Linked DNA regions of Homo sapiens: region 2 is linked to region 1. The links are contacts of gene promoters, found by promoter capture Hi-C in human tissues and cell types (Jung and others, 2019). All regions are on one chromosome and are shown on one strand. The core of a region is centred on a gene start or on the middle of the fragment in contact, and the rest is flanking DNA. Distances in the headings are between cores, read along the strand shown.

What was found. The method cuts DNA at HindIII sites, captures the fragments that hold promoters and counts their contacts. A contact is called where the count stands out against the background at its distance.
Region 2: a fragment that was not itself captured here is called in contact with the fragment with the promoter of CCL25 in region 1 in 1 of the 25 tissues and cell types used here (mesenchymal stem cells).

Annotation. Positions count from the first base shown.
Region 1 is chr19:8,051,167-8,054,162 of GRCh38, reverse strand. It overlaps CCL25 (C-C motif chemokine ligand 25), which reads right to left and starts at 1,403. Exons shown (of 6, transcript NM_005624.4): 1 at 1,341-1,403; 2 at 1,041-1,163. The coding sequence starts at 1,113. The HindIII fragment of the contact is 31,009 bases long and covers 1-2,996 here.
Region 2 is chr19:8,240,251-8,243,102 of GRCh38, reverse strand. The region is part of intron 2 of CERS4 (ceramide synthase 4); the gene reads right to left. LOC107985282 (a long non-coding RNA gene) reads left to right here and starts at 2,609. Exons shown (of 2, transcript XR_001753859.2): 1 at 2,609-2,769. RefSeq lists a silencer at 2,538-2,587. The HindIII fragment of the contact is 3,994 bases long and covers 1-2,852 here.

The sequences.
Region 1 (2,996 bases), core at 154-2,653:
GGACCCTGCTTTGGCCAGCTGCTGAAACTCAGAGGATGTAGGACCCAGTGTCAGGGCTCCCGTGGGGACACCCCAGGCCCAGGAATTGTCCTTTGGCGACTGAAATCCTCAAGTGCTTGCTCTGCGGTAGGGAGTGGGGAAGAAGGAAAGAGTTCCCTATTAATAACAGGAACAGTTACTATTGCCGCCGCCAGACATGAGGCCTAGTCTTTTGCAGGCATGAGCTCACTGGACCCTCAAGTCAGAGCCATGCAGTGGGAATTTTAGATTCCCACTTTGCAGCTGAGGAAACGGAGGCTCCTAAAGGTTTAGGAAGCCGGGCACAGTGGCTCAAACCTGTAATCCTAGCACTTTGGGAGGCTGAGGCAGGCGGATCGCCTGAGATCAGGAGATCGAGACTACTCTGGCCAACATAGTGAAACCCCATCTCTACTAAAAAATACAAAAATTAGCCGGGCATGGTACACACGCCTGTAGTCCCAGCTACTTGGGAGGCTGAGGCAGAAGGATCGCTTGAGCCCAGGAGGCGGAGGTTGCAGTGAGCCAAGATCGCGCCACTGCACTCCAGCCAGGGTGACAGAGTGAGACTCTGTCTCAAAAAAAAAAAAAAAAAAATGGTTTAGGAGCAACTAACTCTCAGCTGGACTGCATGGAGGGACCAGGATGGGAATCCACTCTTGTCAGTCTCCAGGGCCCTGATCTCCAACCCCACCCCTGGCTCGGCAGGATTAGGATTCTACAATACATCCCTGGCAGTAACTGGCTTTGCCCACAGCTGGAAGCCACCCTCTGCTCCCTCACATCTTTAGGAGTCTTGCAAAAGACTCCATGGGGCTCTCGAAGAAGGAACTGGGGACTCTCCATCTCCCCGACCCCATCCCAAGAGCTAACCAAACACCAGGAGTTCCTGCATGTCAGGAGCGGGAGAATTCAGTGGAGATGGGATTGGGGAGACTTCCGGAGGAGATAAGAGACAAAAGGGGTGGGGTGGGGGCATGGGGAGAGGGGCACTTGGTGGTAGGCATTGCCGAACACAGTACCTTGGGTGTGGACAGCGGGGGCCCAGGCTCCCAGGAAGCCGGCCACCAGGCAGGCCAGGAGCCACAGGTTCATGCTGCAGGCGGGTCCTCCTCCCTGGGCACCTGGACGAATAACGGGGCCACCTGGGGTCGTGGAGGGAAGTGGTAAGGACTGAGGAAGAGGAGGGGAGTGGGTACTGGGAACATCCCCCCTCTTAAGCCCCAGGCATATGGCAAGGGAAGGAGGTTGTATAAAGTAGGAACAAGTTGTGCTGGAGGGAAAAGCTGTTCATCTCAGTCATGTTCAAGGAAAAGACTCACCGATATCCACTGGGTCAAGGGAGCTGATGCCCGCCGGGCTGTAGGCCAAGCTGTCCCATCTGCAGGACCAACACGCTGAGCTTCACTCTTTATAGACAGAGCCCCACCCAGCCACCCCCTGCCCGCCCTCCTCCCTTCCTCCTCCTCTCCACCTGCACTCTCAGCCTCTGGAATTCTCCCTCTTCTACAGCAAGCTCCAACCTCGACCCACAGGCCCCCTTGCCTCCCCACTCCCCATCCCAGGCCTCCCAGCCAGCACCCCTACTGTCTCCAGAAAGGGCCTTTTCCCCTGTTTCCCTCACCTGCACACACCTGGTGGACACTGGCTGCCTGCGAACAAGGCTCAGACTGCCTTGAGCCCCCAAACAAGCCCTTACCTTCATGCTCCCCCCGCCCTCAAGCCACCTGTTCCCTGGTGGGTCCCCAACTTCACTCCATTTCCCTCTCCTTCCACACCATGGTTAGGTAACTTAGCATGTCACAGAAATCCTCTGGTTGTGATCACAGGCAAATCCATAGAAACAGAAAGTAAATTAGCGGTGGCCACAGGATGGGGGGAGGGGAGAATGAAGGACTGACTGTGAGAGGGTATGGGTTTCCTTTTGTTCTGAAATTAGATGAGAGTGATGGTTACATAACTCTATGAATATAGTCAGCACGGCACAATGGTGCACCTCCCACCGGTGAACAACCCCAACAAGAAAGAAACTCTCTAGGCCAGGCATGGTGGCTCATGTCTGTAAGCCCAACACTTTGGGAGGCCGAGGCCAGAGGATTGCTTGAGCCCAGGAGCTCAAGACCACCCCGGGCAATATAGAGAGACCTGCGTCACTACAAAAATTTTTTAAAAAATTAGCCTGACGTAGTAGTGCATACCTGTAGTCCCAGCCACTCAGGAGGCTGAGGTGTGAGGATTGCTTGAGCCTTGGAGGTTGAGGCTGCAGTGAGCTGTGATCATGCCACTGCACTCCAGCCTGGGCAACAGAGCAAGACCCTGTCTCAAAAAATGGAAAAAAAAACGGTGGCCGGACACAGTGGCTCACACCTGTAATACCAGCACTTTGGGAGGCCGAGGCAGGCGGATCCTCTGAGGTCAGGAGTTCGAGACCAGCCTGGCCAACATGGCAAAACCCCATCTCTACTAAAATTACAAAAATTAGCCGAGTGTGGTGGGGGGGCACCTGTAATTCCAGCTACTCAGGAGGCTGAGGCAGGAGAATCGCTTGAACCCGGGAGGCGGAGGTTGCAGTGAGCCGAGATTGGGCCACTGCATTCCAGCCTGGGCGACAAGAGTGAAACTCTGTCTCAAAAAAAAAAAAAAAAAAAAAAACAAAAGAAAAAGAAAAAATGGAAGAAATGTTTTGTTTTTGGAAGAAAAGCCAGGAGCCCCGGGTAGCCATGCCCTCAGGAAGCAAAGCAACATTCACCGAGAAGGCATGTCTTTTTTTTTTTTCTTCTGAGACGGAGTCTTGCTCTTTTGCCCAGGCTGGAGTGCGGTGGCGCTGTCTCGGCTCACTGCAAGCTCCGTCTCCCGGGTTCACGCCATTCTCCTGCCTCAGCCTCCCGAGTAGCTGGGACTACAGGCTCCCGCCACCACGCCTGGCTAATTTTTTGTATTTTTAGTAGAGACGGGGTTTCACCATGTTAGCCAGGATG
Region 2 (2,852 bases), core at 326-2,825, 190 kb before region 1:
CCCACCTCAGCCTTCTGAGTCACTGGTGCAGCTTTCTCAGAGACCCTGCTACCTTTCTGACAGACCCCAAGGTGCAGATGGAAGGGGACTAGGTGTCCTAGGAAGGCCCAGGCATCCAGACCCCCAGCTCCATGTTTTCCCCTCACCCAAGGGTCTTGGATGCATCCTTGCACACCTTGGTACATTCAAGTCATGATGAGTGTAGGGGATGAGGGAGAACCACAGGAGCAATGGCTTCTCACAATCTCAAGCCTTGCCTCTGCTGATGTGCCCAGCTTCAATGCCCACCAGTTTACTGACTGATACTCTGCTCCCACCAGACCATATCGTTTCACACATCCTAGCCTTTACAAATACTGGCCTCTGCCTAGAATGCTCATTTAGTATTTGGGTGCTGAAGACACAAAATGGTGGGGAAAACAAGCAACATCTCTGCCCTGAAGAGCTTAAACGCTTTCTTTCTCTGTTTGGCAAACTCCTATGCATCCTTCAAAACCCAGCTCAGTTGTCACCTCCTCCTGAAAGCAGCCCAATTGCCCTGCTTTGGATCCTGTTAAAGCACCCTCCCGCAACCCTGTCTTACTGTGATGTCAGGAGCTGGCCAGTGTTTTTGCAGGGAGGGTTGGAGAAGGAAGCATAACCAGTTCTAAACTCTCCTCTCCTCTGCTGAATCATGCCCATTGCTTCCTGAGTGGCACAGAAAGGGGAACAGATGCACTTTCTAAACCAGGGAGCTCTCCAAGGAGGCTTCAGACTGATATGCCCTGATTGCAGAGGTCTGGCCCCAGAGGTCCTACTCTCTCACTAACCTCACCAACCTGTCTCTGTCTCGTCCCTTCCCTCTTCTCCCTCTTAAAGCATAAATAAAAGATGCTGTGGTTTGAGAAAAGAACAGGGTCTGGAGCCCAGCAGACTGGCTGGAGTCCTAGCTGCAATGCTTCAAAGCCCTGGGAGCCTCAATTTCGTCACCTGTTGGTGGGACAGGTGCCCTCCCTGAAGGGTGGTTAAGCAGCTCAGAGACCTTGCACCTGGGGCATTGAGGCAGAGTCTGGCATATGGGAGGGGCTCAGGCATGGCTATAACCAGGCACCTCAGGCCAGCAAGGCTCAACTTCTCCTGAGGGAAGGGAGGAAATGAGGCTGAGGGATGTGTTCCTCAATTTCTAGCTTTTCTCTTTTGGATCCAGTTCTTCTGTTTGTTCCCTGTCATCCTCTGTCTTCCTGGGCCTCAGTTGTCCCATCTGAAAAATGGGTACAGCTAGATTCCCTCCTTGTTCTACCAGGCTATTGTGAGGCTCAGGGCAGGCGGGCAGTTTATAAACACTCCATGCTGATATCACAACGGATCTGATTCCTGATTCCTGCCTCACCCGTTTACCAGGCATGGAACGTGGCCTATCTGTGCCTCAGTTTTATCTGTAAAATGGAACAAACAATAGCCCCTCTTCCACATGGAGTGGTTCGGAATGGCACCTGAGGTGGAGTGAGCACCTAGTAAAATTTAGAGGACCGAGTGCAGTGGCTCACACCCAGCACTTTGAGAGGCCGAAGTGGGAGGATTGCTTAAGGTCAGGAGTTCGAGACCAGCCAGGGCAACATAGCAAGACAAAAAAATTTAAAAATTAGGTGGGCATAGTGACACACACCTGTAATCCCGGCTACTCAGGAGGCTGAGGTGAGAGGACTGGTTGAGCCCAGGAGTTTGAGGCTGCAGTGAGCTGTGATCACACCACTGCACTCCAGCCTGGGTGACGGAGCAGATCCTGTTTCGGAAAAAAACCCCCCAAAAAACAGCTTAGACTGTGATAGTTACTGCTAGACAGGAGGTGGGGGCAGGATGGGGAGTGGTCTGGAAAGAAGGGGTGCTGGCCTATGGAGGCTTCTAGATGGTTCTTCCAAGCCCTTAGGACGGTTTCCAGCATCTGAGGTGCCTAAGGCTGCTGGAAGCTTTCCTTGCCCCTGCCACCTTCCCTTAAAGCTGCAGCTGAAGTGTTTGGGCTGGGCTGGACGACAGCAGCTTCAGGGTCATCTGCAGAGCCACCGCGTGGGTGGCAGGGCCAGTGTGACCAGCCTCTTCTCCCCTCACCCCACCCGCCCCCAAGCCTGGCTGCTGTTTGAAGCCTCCCTGGCCCCACTCCCAGCTTGGCCCCTGCCACCTGGGAACCAAACTGATAATCCTTCTTAGTGGCTAAAAATAGCCCCAGATTGGGGGAAAGAGAGAGAATGGGGCTTTGTACTGACACGGGAGGTGGGTTAGGGGGCATGAGTAGAGGATCCCTGCCCCTCTTCAGGGGTCTGAGTGAGAAGGACTGGTTCCCACGGCTTCCCCGAACCCCCAAGGACCCTGGCACTGCTCAGCAGATCAGAGCTATGCACATAGGTTTGTTTTGTTTTGCTTTCAATCTAGCTGGAAATACAGGACTTGTCCATGGTTGTGAAAAAGGCAATTAATTCAGACCCCAGATGTCTGGGCCTCCCAGAGATGAAAACACACACACACACACACACACACACACACTTGCATACATTGACTCACTCACCCGCCCCTGCAGCCTGGCCCGCTGCCTGGGGTCACCTGATTCCTGCGGCCAGAGGCTCAGGCGGGAGCACGTGACATGCTGGAAGGAAGGGGGCTGTTTGCAGATAACCACAGCCTGCCTCTGCACCGGGTCCTGGCTGTCCCTTCCAGACGGACCTGTCTCTTCCACTCTGAGCCTCTCTGAGCAGAGGTCCCACAGGGTGTTAGTGACCAGAGATGCTGCCGGTTGAGGTACCACTCCCCCCAAAGACCCCAAGGTGGACCCCAAGTTCAAGGTTCCGCCTTACCTGAGCCCCTTATTTCTGCACACATTC